3 separate regions of the Homo sapiens genome follow, and regions 2 and 3 are each linked to region 1. Evidence: promoter capture Hi-C in 16 types of primary human blood cells and fetal thymus (Javierre and others, 2016). All regions are on one chromosome and are shown on one strand. Each heading gives the region's core, a stretch centred on a gene start or on the middle of the fragment in contact. The rest is flanking DNA. Distances are from core to core; before and after follow the strand shown. Region 1 holds the start of GBP7 (guanylate binding protein 7). Region 2 has its middle 58 kb from the start of LRRC8B. Region 3 has its middle 77 kb from the start of LRRC8B.

Region 1 (4,398 bases), core at 1,055-3,554:
CATTTGTTACTGTTTGTGTTTCAGTTTGGCCTCCTTCACATCTTGGTATCTTGGTTGATTTTAAGTATGATTTATTTTTTGAGTTTGTGAAACATCATGGTTCTGAAATGCAGAGCTTTTCAAAAAGTTACAGTCAGAGAAGTGTCACTTTTCCTTCATCTTACCACTCCACTCACATTGCAGTGGTCTTCTATTCTTTCTACCACATTCCCACCCATCCTCCATAGATACCCAATCTTGTTAGTTTCTGGTTTACGCTTCTTGGATTTTCTTTTCTCAAATGAGAATGTACATATTTTCTTTTTCACATTTTCTAACACGAAGATCACATCATATAGAAATTTGGAAATCCCTCCACATCTGTTCATAGAAAGCTTTTAAAATCCTTTTAACATGTATCTACTCCTTTATGTGGATTATACCCCAGTTTATTCAATCACTCTTCAATGTATGGGCATTTAGATTGTTTCAAATATTTTGCAATTACAAACAATGCTGCAATGAATAACTCTGCTAACGTTATGCATGTGTATTTTTATATTGTTACAGGAGTAATTTCAGGATAGAGTCCTACCAACGGGATTGCTTGGTCAAAAGATGAGAGTATATAATTTTGTAGATATTGCCAAGTTCCTCTCCAGAAAGTTGTACAAGGTTGCATTCCCACCAGCTCATCTTGTATGTCATTTTCTAGAAAATGGAATTTTTCCTAGGTGCCCCGCTTGCTCTTCTGAATTAATTACAAAATTTCCTTTGGAAGCTTTTCACGTTCACATTTAGATCTTTGGACTGAGCAAAGCTGAGCTCGCTGAGCTCATGTATATAGTAGTAGTAATCTTCACCTGGGAAACATTGTGTTATACATATCTCTATACTTTGAAACATAGATACCATTCTAACCCATTCTTGGTCCTGATTTCTTGCAAGCCCCTCTGTGGGCAGGGTCTGGTCAGACTGTGGGACTCAGGTTACCCAATGGCTTCCTCCTCTCACTGTGCATCAGCATTCACACGTTATTCATGCAAGCCTGATAGCTCGCACCTGACACTTACTCTGTTGATTTTTGACTTGATTATGTTAACAGATTTTGAATTCTCTGCATTTGAAGATTGATTCTTTATTACCTCCATGTATATCAGTCTGCATATTGTTTTTAATTATTTCATGTAATGAAGTCACAGCATGAAACATTCTTTGAAAAACCATGGCTTGTTTTTTGTCTGATCTCTGCTGTATAGAGAGTAGCATATGCACAATTGTAATCATGCTATCTTTATCCAGGGCTTGATAAATTAAATATTTTGATAATTTTGTAAAGTTAAAAGGAGTGAAAAGCCTTCTTGTAGTGATGCTTTAATTTTGTGTTTTTAAGTTGAATGTCTCAATCCTTGTAACTTATGTGATCATGATACAAAATATATAATCTCTTTAAGATACAAGCAAATATAGATGATAGATACTGCAGTTTTCTTTTTTATCCTATAATAAAGAGTGGTTTGTTTCCACTATAGAGTTGGTTACTTCTGACTTGTTCCTCTGGAGGTTTATATTAAATTATCTGGCTTCCCATCACTTCAGCAGAAGATGGAAAAAAAGCCGTTTATTTTTCTGTGATCATGACCCATTTCCTCTTATAGCAATGGCCTACAGGATCTGCTGGCAAGCAAGAAGGGCAAACCAGAAACTAAAAAGATTGGGTATCTATGGAAGATGAGTGAAAACAGAGTATGCGTCTGTCCAATTCTGTAGCATATACTATGCTACCATAACATAGGAATCAATCAGTCACCGGCTCAGAAAGGTGGTGGCACAAAGATGTTATAAGGTCCTGGATTATAATAATGTGTTGCCTCTTTTTGCAGATCCCAAGTTGCCTACCTTCATTTACCTAGAGCTATAAATGTTGGGCCCAATAAAGAAAGTGACAGAGCCTATTAGGCAGATATTTAAAGATAACAGTAATTTAAGATGGTGTCAGAAAAGAAATAACAATCTTAGAACACTGGCTTCTCTGAATATCTGTTCCACCTCTGCTGAAGCCTAATCTGACACAGCAGGAATTAGAGCACACTAAGGTACACACAGCCACCTAAGAGGCCAGGATTTCATCTGGACTTGTATCCTGTAGCTGGCTCAGCTGCAGCCTATCTTGGGGATGGTCAACTTAGAGAAAACTAATGGATCCTTATAAATCATGAAATCCTTATAAGTCATAGTCTTACCCAGAGTAGAGATCCTCTGGACTTGGTAAGAAGGCAGCTTCAATGAGAAAGTTATGAGTCTTTATTCTCTTCTCTTTAGTTCTGAATTTGGCTGCACTGATTTCTCCCACTTTTTTTCTTGCTGGAACTTTGGACTTTTACCTTACCTCTCCAATGTCATGGGGCTTTCCAGACTTTCTAGAGACCTGTATTTATACATGTAAAAAACAATGCAACCTCTGCAAATAAATAGAGTAATATGACAGTCCATGATTTAGCAACAATAAAAGAAATTGCTGACAGCTGTGCTAGTGAGAGGATTTGACATAATTTCTCAAACAGAATCTTCCAATTTTATTATTGGAAGAGATCTTAGAGACAGCTTGCGATTATTAAAAAAACTTCAATGAATCGTTTAAAATAATGACATTCATCTCATGTTTGTGGGCCACATTGAGAAGTACAGGAATAAGAAAGCTTAATATAATATTATTTAGGTTCAATTGGCTTGAATATTAGACTCTTAAAATGGAACTCATTATTTGTGTTTAATAATGAGGACTCTAAATGCCCTGAAGGAATGTCCACGTCTTATACATGTTTGAATTATTAGCACCTAACTCAGGTCTTGGCACTTAACATTTAATAAATAATAATGAAGATAGTACCCGTTTTGTTTACATAGATTATCCCATTGTATTCTTATCACAAATACTTTTACCACAATGTTAAAAGAGGGATTTAATAATTTATTACAATTACAGAGCTACTAAATAAGATTTGGGCCCAAGAAGTCTTGCTGTCAGTCACTTCATTAAAATACCTCTGTGTTTGCTGAGTGTACAATAACAATGTTTTCTCCTTATCAGTTCCATTCTAGGCCATATTCTTTACACATACCATTTTAAATATCAAAATACCTCAAGATAAAGGTTGTTTATTATCCCCATTGTCCAAGGGGGAAAAATAATCAGAAAACGGGTAATTAATATGTCTAACTAAAGCCATTGAGCTACACACCAAGGTAGCAAGTAATTGAGCGAGATTCAAACTTGAAAATCCATTTGGTTAAAACCACATTGATTCTCTACTGCACATTGTCTCTAAAAGAGAGGAAGGTGGGAAGCGGGGAAGAGAGAGAGAGAAATGGAGAGCAGAGAGTAAGACTTCTCTGTGTGTGTGTGAATATTGATGAGATTTAAAGTGAAAGTAAGGCAGGGTTATTTCAAAACAGAACTATTGCTAGGAAATCACCTGCTTCTAAGTAATAAAATCTATTGTTTATATCATGCAAACAAAAAATAGCCCCAGGCAAAATTGAATCTTTGTGAATCATGTATAATTTAAGGGTACATAAATTTATAAGAAAAAAAGATCCCACTTTCCCAACTTGTGTTTTTTTTTTTTGAGACAGAGTTTCTCTCTTGTTGCCCAGGCTGGAGTGCAATGGTACAATCTTCGCTCACTGCAACCTCCACCTCCTGGGTTCAAGCGATTCTCCTGTCTCAGCCTCCTGAGTAGCTAGGATTACAGGCATGAGCCACCAAGCCCGGCTAATTTTGTATTTTTAGTAGAGATGGAGTTTCTCTATGTTGGTCAGGCTGATGTCGAACTCCCAATCTCAGGTGATCCACCCGCCTCAGCCTCCCAAGGTGTTGGAATTACAGGTGTGAGCCACCATGCCAGACCCCAGCTTGTTTTTAGAGTGTTTCTTTAGAGACAAGTGGGCCAGAGTCCTTTCTTTAACCTTTTGAATACAAATAGAGCTTTCTAGGGGCTAAATATCAGTGCCAGCTTTACAACCCAGAGATGTCTTCAAGAGTCTGGGCTCCATGCCTTTTGAAATGGAAATATCCAGAAAGACAGAGACCCAGGCTTCCTGACACTTTGGGAGCTTAAGCCCGGTGCCTATCCTGTCTATAGCCATTTCTTCCAAGGGAGATAAATTTTAATATTCTTTTAGATAAGCAAATGGCTACCACATTTCCAAGGTGAGCATAGGATGAAGAATACAAGGAAGGTATAGCAAATTTGAGGATGTACCAGCAAATTGTGTTGTCAATTCTCTAATGGGAAAACAGGATGGCATTGATCCTAGGGAAACATGTTATATATAAACCAGCTAAAAATAGTGCAGTGTAAATGCTGGGCGAGGTGGCTCACACCTGTAATCCCAGCACTTTGGGAGACTGAGGTG
Region 2 (4,398 bases), core at 1,380-3,879, 290 kb after region 1:
AGGAGACATGATGATGATGGAAGCAAAAGGTGGAAGTGATCCCAGGAAGGGGCCATGACCAAGGAGTGCAGGGGCCTCTAAGGGCTGAAAACGGCGAGGAAACTGATTTTTCCCTAGAGACTCCAGAAGAATCCAATGCCTTGATTTTAGCCCCATGAGACCCATTTTGGACTTCTGACCACCCTCCAGAATTGTAAGAGTTTATATTGTGTTCTTTAAACCACTAAATTTGTGGTAATTTGTTACAGTGGCAACAGGAAACTAATACACTTAGAAATCATTCAGATTCACTTCAAGATATTTCAAGCTGTCATAGGAGTAGTAGTTACATTTCCAACAGCGAACAATAGCTAAGTAATGCCAAATCCAGAACTAGAATCCAGATCTCTTGACCGCCTCAGTGCTAGGCTCTTTCCACTACACATAGCTGTCAACAAGTATAAGTCTCTGAAGTAATAGCTATAGAGAATTTAAAATCAAGTAAAATGTAGACATTAAAAGTGGACACCTTGTTTCCAAGGGAGCACTGTGGTTCTGTTACAGAGAATACCCCAAGATATACAAAGAAATCTTTCTGCACTTAAACTTCTATACTGGCTATTTGTGATGTAGAACAATTCAGGTTTGATTCACCTGCACTAGCAATGCTATCTACATATACGAATGTGTTCTTAATACAAATCACTTTTACAGGGCAAGGACAATTTTTAAAATGTATTATTGAATTTTGAAAATGTTAATAATGTTAAAAAAAATTACTGAATTTGAAATCAGAATGCAGTTCAACTCTCAACTCTGCCATTAGCTCTATGACCTGAAAAAGTCAGTTCACCTCTCTAGGTCAGATTACTTATCCATGGAATGGCCCGCATAGTCCATTACAGATCTCCTGTGCTAGACTAATGCAGGCAGTGCTCTCCTAAGGAGATGGTGCTGTCCCAATACAGACACTGGGCTGATTCTAGAAAGAGAAGCCTTGACATTCACCAAGTGCCTCCTGTGAGCTGTGCACCACAGCTTCACTTCTGTGGCTTTGGTCAATATTCACAATACACAAGGTTGCATTATGACACATATTTTACAGCTGAGGAGACACATACCCAGAGAGCTCAAGTAACACACTCAAATTCATGCAGCACATGCTAGTTACAACTAGTTCTGTCTGACTTGAAATGTGGTCTGTGACACTGTAATCACTTACCTAAAGATTAAATAAGAGTGACTCACACTCTGACAACACTTTTCAGGTTGCAGACACTTCCACACTCATTAGTTAATTTAAACCCATCAAGAACCCCATGTCAAAGCCAAGGAATATGAAAAACAGGATCAGATATATTTCAGGAACCTGTCTAAGGTAACGCAGGAAATGACAGAGACGGTGGAAGTTGAATTCAGGTCTCTCTGATGCCATGCCCTTTCCAGTATGCCTCAGCACCCTACTCTACCACCACTAAAGGGATCTCGGAAAAATCACTTAATATCTTTAAACTTCAACTCCCTTTACTAGAAGCTCTTAATTATAATACCTGCCCCTGGCATCATCCTGAGGGTTAGGGAACTCATAGAAAGTATTTTGCAAGTGTTTATGAACATACAAATGACAGGGTGTTTCAGCTTTACTTGAGCAATGACCATTTGTGTTATCCAAATTGGCTTCTTCTTTAAAAGTTTAGACAGAACTATCAAAACAAATTGGGGACTAAATACCTCTGTGATGTACACTTCTATAAGGCCTGGCACAGGATGAAGGCTCAATAAACGTGTGTTTTCTATTTTTGGTAAGCAAAGAGGCTTTAATCAATAGCTGTCCAGAATGACAATTGTAGCAAATCCTGATCATGGATAACAGCATCTAGAATAATAGCCAGTCCATCAACTCATGTTAAAACCACAAAACCACATCCCTGCTGTGCTAGGGAAGCATCCTTTTGTCCTGAATGAAGTTCAGTATAATATCGAAACTTCTGTGAGAAGGATAAATCCAGAACAATTAAAAATAAAAATTATTGTGTTAGGACAGGTCACACAAGTAGTTTTCCTGGTGATACCTCTGTGATACTGGTAATGAAGATATTATGTGGTTAGTAGACACATCATCAACCACAAAGAAAGAGCTGTGTGCCATAGCAAACCGGCCATACCACTAAGCTTCTACTACCTGAATGCCCCTATCGTGTGGAGTCACGTGGAAATGTAACATGGGTTCTTTTTTGTTTGAGACTGACCTGGGTTTTATAAATCATTAAATTTTCTTTCAGAGCAATTGGATTAACTTTTGTTGTAAGTAAAATGCAACTTCTTTTGGTTTGTTTAGAACAATGTATGTATGGTATGTGGGAGGAGAAGAAGGAGAGGGGAGAAAAGGAGAAGCAGGAAGGGGAAGAAGATAAGCAAAAGGGAAATGAGATAAAAATGGCCATTGTGAAATAAATGTTTTAATTCAAGAGAAAGACAAAATATTTCTAAATTTTTTTTAACTTTTATTTTACGTTTCGGGGTACATGTGCAGTTTTATTATGTGGTAAATTGCCTATCACAGGGGTTTTATGTGCAGATTATTTCATCACCCAGGTGATAAGCATAGTACGTGATAAGTAGTTTTTTGATCCTCTCTCCTCCGGCTCTAAATTGTTATGTATGTAATAACAGAGCCTCAAAATAAATTCTCAACAAATTTCAAAGGGACAAAGTCATATAGAGTATATATTTGGCCACAATAAATTAAGAAATCAGTAATGAAAAGGAGCTTGAAATAAAAACACATATTTTAAATGACCCATGTGTTACAAGAAGTCATGATGAGAGTTAAAAAATATTTGAACCCTTCTTTGCAATGATAAATGGATATATCCTTCTTTATTTTGTACAAAAGTCTCTGTGTTTATTTTGTGGTTTCTAAAATGCTGGGCATACCTCTGCTTGGTTGAAAAAAAAAAAAACAGCATGGTACTTTCATACTGAGTGTAATTCTCTGCTTTATAGAAACAAATTCTGAAAATCAGGATTGAATCTCCATTTGCTTAACATTAATAACCTCCCGCTCTGTCTCAAGTTAGTTGGTGTTGGCTACAAGCCAGGTTTATATTTTAAAATAACAGTGGAAGAAAGCTTTGTACTGTGGTTATCAATTGCTGAAGGAAAAAAAAAGTCTTTTTAATGAAATTTTCTATATGCCAAGATAGGTGTTTATGAGTAAAGACAATATTGTAGTCAAAATAGTTTCTTAACCTGATATAGTATTGTTAGCTTGCTAGAATTAAAATAATTTTACTTTCAAGATGTTATACATTAACTAGCCCCAAAGGAACAACTTTAAAAAAATTTCCTTTAATGATAGATTTATTTGTTGACAATTTTTTATACTAGCATTGTAGTTCAATTTGATTATGAATTAATAACCTGTGTATTTAAAATAATCATAAATGTTGCTGAAGAATCACAGGTGGTACATTTAAAAAATGTTTCTGGCCGGGAGCGGTGGCTCACGCCTGTAATCCCAGCACTTTGGGAGGCCGAGGCGGGCGGATCATGAGGTCAGGAGATCAAGACCATCCTGGCTAACACGGTGAAACCCCGTCTCTACTAAAAATACAAAAAAAATTAGCTGGGCGTGGTGGCGGGCGCCTGTAGTCCCAGCTACTTGGGAGGCTGAGGCAGGAGAATGGCGTGAACCCAGGAGGCGGAGCTTGCAGTGAGCCGAGATAGCGCCACTGCACTCCAGCTTGGGTGACAGAGCGAGACTCCACCTCAAAAAAAAAAAAAAGATGTTTCTAAAGTGTTTTAATTAGACATTTTGAAATATGCAGGATCATTTCAACTTATTCAAGGTAATAGGAATGATTTAAATTCATATACATCCCCAAAGTTGCTTTTTCCTGATGAAGCCCTTGCCATGCACACATCCTGAAGTTGGAAGACAAAAGTTTAAGTCCTACTTCCACCATGCACTAGCTGAATGGTTAAACTCTGAGCATGCTTCCTTACTGATTGTATGAGTATAATGGTGATACCTAAAAGGTTTATTTTTTTATCAAATTCTGAAATGACTAATAAAACATTTTATGAATTATAAATATAAATTAGGACTGAATACTAATAAATGACAAAACAGACACGTTTGTTTCAAGTTCTAAAAGAAGTTATTGACATTAAAAAACAAAGAGAATACTCACATTGTACATTTCTCTGTGTTCTGTTACCATATTGAGAAAGCAAAGAAGAATATTTAGAACACTCAGTAAATGAAAGGCATGGTTTAACCTGGAATAACTGAATCTGTGAAATAATGAGGAGCTTCAAAAATTGTCTCCAGATTATTTCTCATGCTGACTCTAGCTGGAATATGTTAGTACAGTTTAGCAAAAAAAATTATGAATGCCCTGCCACATGAAGTTG
Region 3 (4,398 bases), core at 960-3,459, 270 kb after region 1:
TTTGGAAGGCTTTTCCGGTACTCAAAGGAATTTGGGCCTCAGCCCCAATAATGCTGTGATTTTTTAATACTCCAAGGTACCATCTTGATGGTCATGGATTAGATCCAGAAGAACTATCTGGATTGCCAGGAATATAATCTTGTTCTTTCCCCTTACTTTCACCCAAACAAATGGAGTATGTCTTTCTCTGTGCTGAGCCACCTGGAGCTAGGGGTGAGGTGACACAACTACCACCGTAGCTACCACCACAGGGATTGCACTGAGTCAGATCTGAAGCCAGAATAGCACTGAGTCTTGACCAAGGTCCACTGTAACCACTACCTGGCGACTATCTATGTTCACTTAAGGGCCTAGGGCTCTACAGTCAATAGGTGGTGAAGCCAGTCTGATTTCTGTTCTTCCTTTCAGGGCAACAAGTTCCCTCAGGTCCTGGGTGGGTCCAGAGATGCTGTCTGGGAGCCAGGGATTAGGATCAGAAATCTTAGAAATTCACCTGGTGTTCTATTCTACTGAGGCTAAGCTAGCCTTCAACCCATAAGACAAAATCCCTCCCACTATTCCCTCCCTTTCCATAGGCAAAGGAGCCTCTCTCAATAGCCACCACCACTACCAGCCCATGGGGAGTTCTTCCAGGCCACTGCCAATATTCACTTAAAGTCCAAGGGCTATTCAGTCAGCTTGTAGTGAATGCCAGGCCTGAGAATCACCCTTCAGTGCAATGGGCTCCCATCTGGTCTAGGGCAGGTCCAGAAATACTGTCCAAAAGCTTAGGCCTGGACTCAGGGATCCCAACAGCCCACTAGGTGCTCTGCCTCACTGGGGTCAAGCTGTACTTCAGGTACAAGACAAAGTCCTCTTTGCTTTTCCCCCTGCTTTTCTCAAGCAGGAGTCTTTCACCATAGCCACCACAGCTGGGAATATGCTATGTCTCACCTAAAACCAGGACATCTCCAGTCTTATCCAAGGCCCATAACATACTACCTGAGTATCACCCTTGGTTATTGAGGTCCCAAGGGCTCTTTAGTCAGCAGGTGATGAATCCTGCCAGGACTGGGTCATACTCTTCAGGGAAGCAGTTTCCCTTCTAGTCCAGGGTATATCTAGAAACGTAGTATGGGAGCTAGGGCCTGAAATATAGGGGTCAAGACTCTGCTTGTGTCCTATCCTATTGTGCTGACCTGGTATTGAAGATGCAAAATGAAGCCATCTTTACTTTCCACTCTCCTCTCCTCAAGGAGAAGGAAGGAGTCACTTTCATTGCTGTGAGCTGAGCTTCCTGGGGATGGAGGAGGGGAGGTACAAGCACTCCCTTAGCCGCCTGGCTGGTATCTCCTTGGATCACATGCCACTCTAGTCCACCTGCTCTAAGCCCAGCCTAGCACTAAGACTTGCCTAGGAATTGTAGCCCTTGTGTCCTAGACTGCCTTTCAAGTTTTCCTAGGACCCCAGAGCCCTTTAGCCCACAGTGGTGAGGCTTGCCAAGAAACTAAAGTTCCAACTGCTGGGATGGGCAATTTCCCTCTGGATAGGGTTTATCCAAATACTCCCTCCATGGGGCAGCCACCAGCTGAGTTCAACATGATTTTGCTTTCCACTATGACAAGGCAGCACTGAGTTCAATGCCAAGTCCCTTAGTCATTGTGCTTGCCCTCTTCCAAATACACAGATTCTCTCTCCAGAATCGGGGAGGTAAGGCATTGATGACTGATGATTGAAGACTGTCTTTCCTACCCTCTTCAGTGCCTCTTTTAGTGGTATGAAGCTAAAACCAGATATTGTGATTGCTTACCTGATATTTGGTTCTTATGATGATGGTTTTGTGTGTAGTTGTTAAAATGTGGTTGTTTCTGCAGTGAGGACAATCAGTGGAGAGTTTTATTCAGCCATCTTGCTCTGTCACTTTCTAAATACCCTGATGAATTGATGCTAAAATCTTCAACAAAACACTAGTAAACCAAATTCAACAATATATCAAAAAAAATAATTTATCATGACTAAGTGGGATTTATCCCAGAGATGCAAGGATGTTTCAACATATGCAAATCAATCAATGTGAAACATCATATATATTACATGAAGAAAAAAGCAAATAATCATTTCAATTGATGCTGAAAAAGCATTTGATGAAATTCAACTTCCCTTCACAATAAAAAAAATCTTAAAAAACTGAGTATAGATGGAACATAACACAATAAAATCCACATATGACAGACTTACAGTTAGTATCATACTGAACAGGAAAAACTGAAAGCCTATCCTCCAATACCTGGAACTGGAAAAGCATATCCACTTTTACCACTGTTATTCAACATAGTACTGGAAGTCCTAGCTAGAGCATTCAGATAAGCAAAGAAAAAAAGAGCATTTGAATTGAAAAGGAAGAAGTCAAGTTATTTTTGTTTGCAATTGATATGCTCTTATATTTGGAAAAACCTAAAGACTCCACAAAAACTTTCTTAGAACTAATAAACAAATTTAATAAGTTTGCAGAACACAAAATTAACATACAAAAATCTGTAGCATTTGTATGTGCCAATAGCAAAAAACCTGAAATTAAGAAAGTAATTTCATTTACAATAGCTACAAATAAAATAATATACCTAGGGATAAACTTAATCAAAGAAGTAAAAGATCTCTACAACACAAACCATAAAGCGTTGATGCAAGAAACTGAAGAGGACTCAAAAAATAGAAAGATATTGCATGTTCACAGATTTGAAGAATCAACTGTCCATACTCCCTAAAGAAACTTACAGATTCAATAGACTCTCTATCAAAATATCAAGGACATTCTTCACAGAAATAGAAAAAACAATCCTAAAATTTATATGAAACAACAAAAGATCCAAAAGAAACCAAGCTATCCTGAGTGAAAAGAACAAAACTGGAGGAACCACATTACCTGACTGCAAATTATACTACAGAGCTATATAACCAAAACAGCATGGTACTGGCATAAAAACATACACAGAGACCAATGGAAGAGAATAGAGAACCTAGCAATAAGTGTATACATCTCCAGTGAACCCATTTTCAGCAAAGGTGTCAAGAATATACATTGGGGAAAGGACAGTCCCTTTAATAAATGGTCTTGGAAAAACTGGATATCCATATGCAGAAGAATGAAATTAGACCCCTACTCTTGTTCTATATAAAAATCAGATCAAAATGGATTAAGATTTAAATTCAAAACCTCAAACTATAAAACTACTAAGAGAAAACACTGGGGAAACTATGAAGGACATTGGGCTGAGCAAAGATTTCTTGAGTAATACACCACAGGCACAGGCACTATAGTCAATAATTAATTGTACATTTTAAAATAACTAAAATAATGTAATTGGATTGTTTGAAACAAAAAAATGATAAATGCTTGAGAAGATGGATACCCAGTTTTTCAAGAGGTGACTATTACACATTGCATGCTTGTATCAAAGTATCTCGTGTTCCCCATAAATATACATACCTGTTCTATGCCTACAAAAATTAAAAAATAAATTTAAAAAATAAAATAAAATGGACACTGAGCATGAAAAATCCCTGAGCAAACAAATTAACTGGGCCTTAAAAATAGCCTTAACCTTACTTAAACTGCAAACATAAGTGAAAAGTTAACTTGGGTAATTTCTGGCAAATGCTTATGTTAGAAAAAAAAGCTTAAGCTCAGCCAACTGAAAGAGTTGAAATATGCTATTCTGCCATATTGAATGTTTAAGCTAAAGACACTAGAAAAAAAGCAGGGTTTGATCATAATGCTGTTTCTTAAAAGCAGAATATGAAACTCCCATGTAAAAGACACACTCTCTATACTAGAAGGAAAGGCAATATCCTTGTATTCAGGATGCGAAGTTGAAACCAAGAGAATTCTGTACAGACCTTGTTAAAATAGTTTTATCTTTTAAGCCTCTCCAAATAATTTAGCTACTTCTTCACTGCCAATTGTTCTTTGTTTAATCCACTATACAAGTAACTAATTCTAAACACTTCTTTGGGTCTTCATTTCTTTACATGGCTCTCATGCCATGTAAAACATCCTATGTGTCTTTCCTCTTAATCTTACTTATGTCAATTTTTCTCCCACCAAGGACTCTAAAAGGATGGAGGTAGAAGTTTTTCTGCCCCGACTCAGTCATAAGCAGTGAAATAAAGTATGATTACATGACTAGAGACTTTCCAACAAGGTAAACTAAAAAAGGCAATCTTGTAACTGCTAAAGTAATTTCTTTATTTTGCTTCCACAGTTGCCTTATAAATACTTGCCTCTGATGCTTTGTCATCCTAATGCTGAACTTCCTTGGGTTTGGTGCTTTCCAATTCATGTTTTCTTCCTCAAATAAACTCTAAACTCTAAACACCCATTGTGCCACAGATTTGTGTGTGTGTGTGTGTGTGTATATA

What was found. The method cuts DNA at HindIII sites, captures the fragments that hold promoters and counts their contacts. A CHiCAGO score of 5 or more calls a contact.
Region 2: a contact is called between a fragment that was not itself captured here and the fragment with the promoter of GBP7 in region 1, in 6 of 17 cell types (activated CD4 T cells, M1 macrophages, total CD8 T cells and 3 more). The highest score is 8.3, in activated CD4 T cells.
Region 3: a fragment that was not itself captured here is called in contact with the fragment with the promoter of GBP7 in region 1 in 3 of 17 cell types (activated CD4 T cells, total CD8 T cells and non-activated CD4 T cells); the score reaches 10.5 in activated CD4 T cells.

The regions. Positions count from the first base shown.
Region 1 is chr1:89,173,699-89,178,096 of GRCh38, forward strand. GBP7 (guanylate binding protein 7) reads right to left here and starts at 2,305. Exons shown (of 11, transcript NM_207398.3): 1 at 2,223-2,305. All of the region lies in intron 3 of LOC105378842 (a long non-coding RNA gene), which reads left to right. The HindIII fragment of the contact is 1,918 bases long and covers 759-2,676 here.
Region 2 is chr1:89,464,371-89,468,768 of GRCh38, forward strand. No RefSeq gene overlaps it. Among named protein-coding and RNA genes, the nearest start is that of LRRC8B, 58 kb to the right of the region's middle. The HindIII fragment of the contact is 960 bases long and covers 2,150-3,109 here.
Region 3 is chr1:89,446,026-89,450,423 of GRCh38, forward strand. No RefSeq gene overlaps it. Among named protein-coding and RNA genes, the nearest start is that of LRRC8B, 77 kb to the right of the region's middle. The HindIII fragment of the contact is 2,890 bases long and covers 765-3,654 here.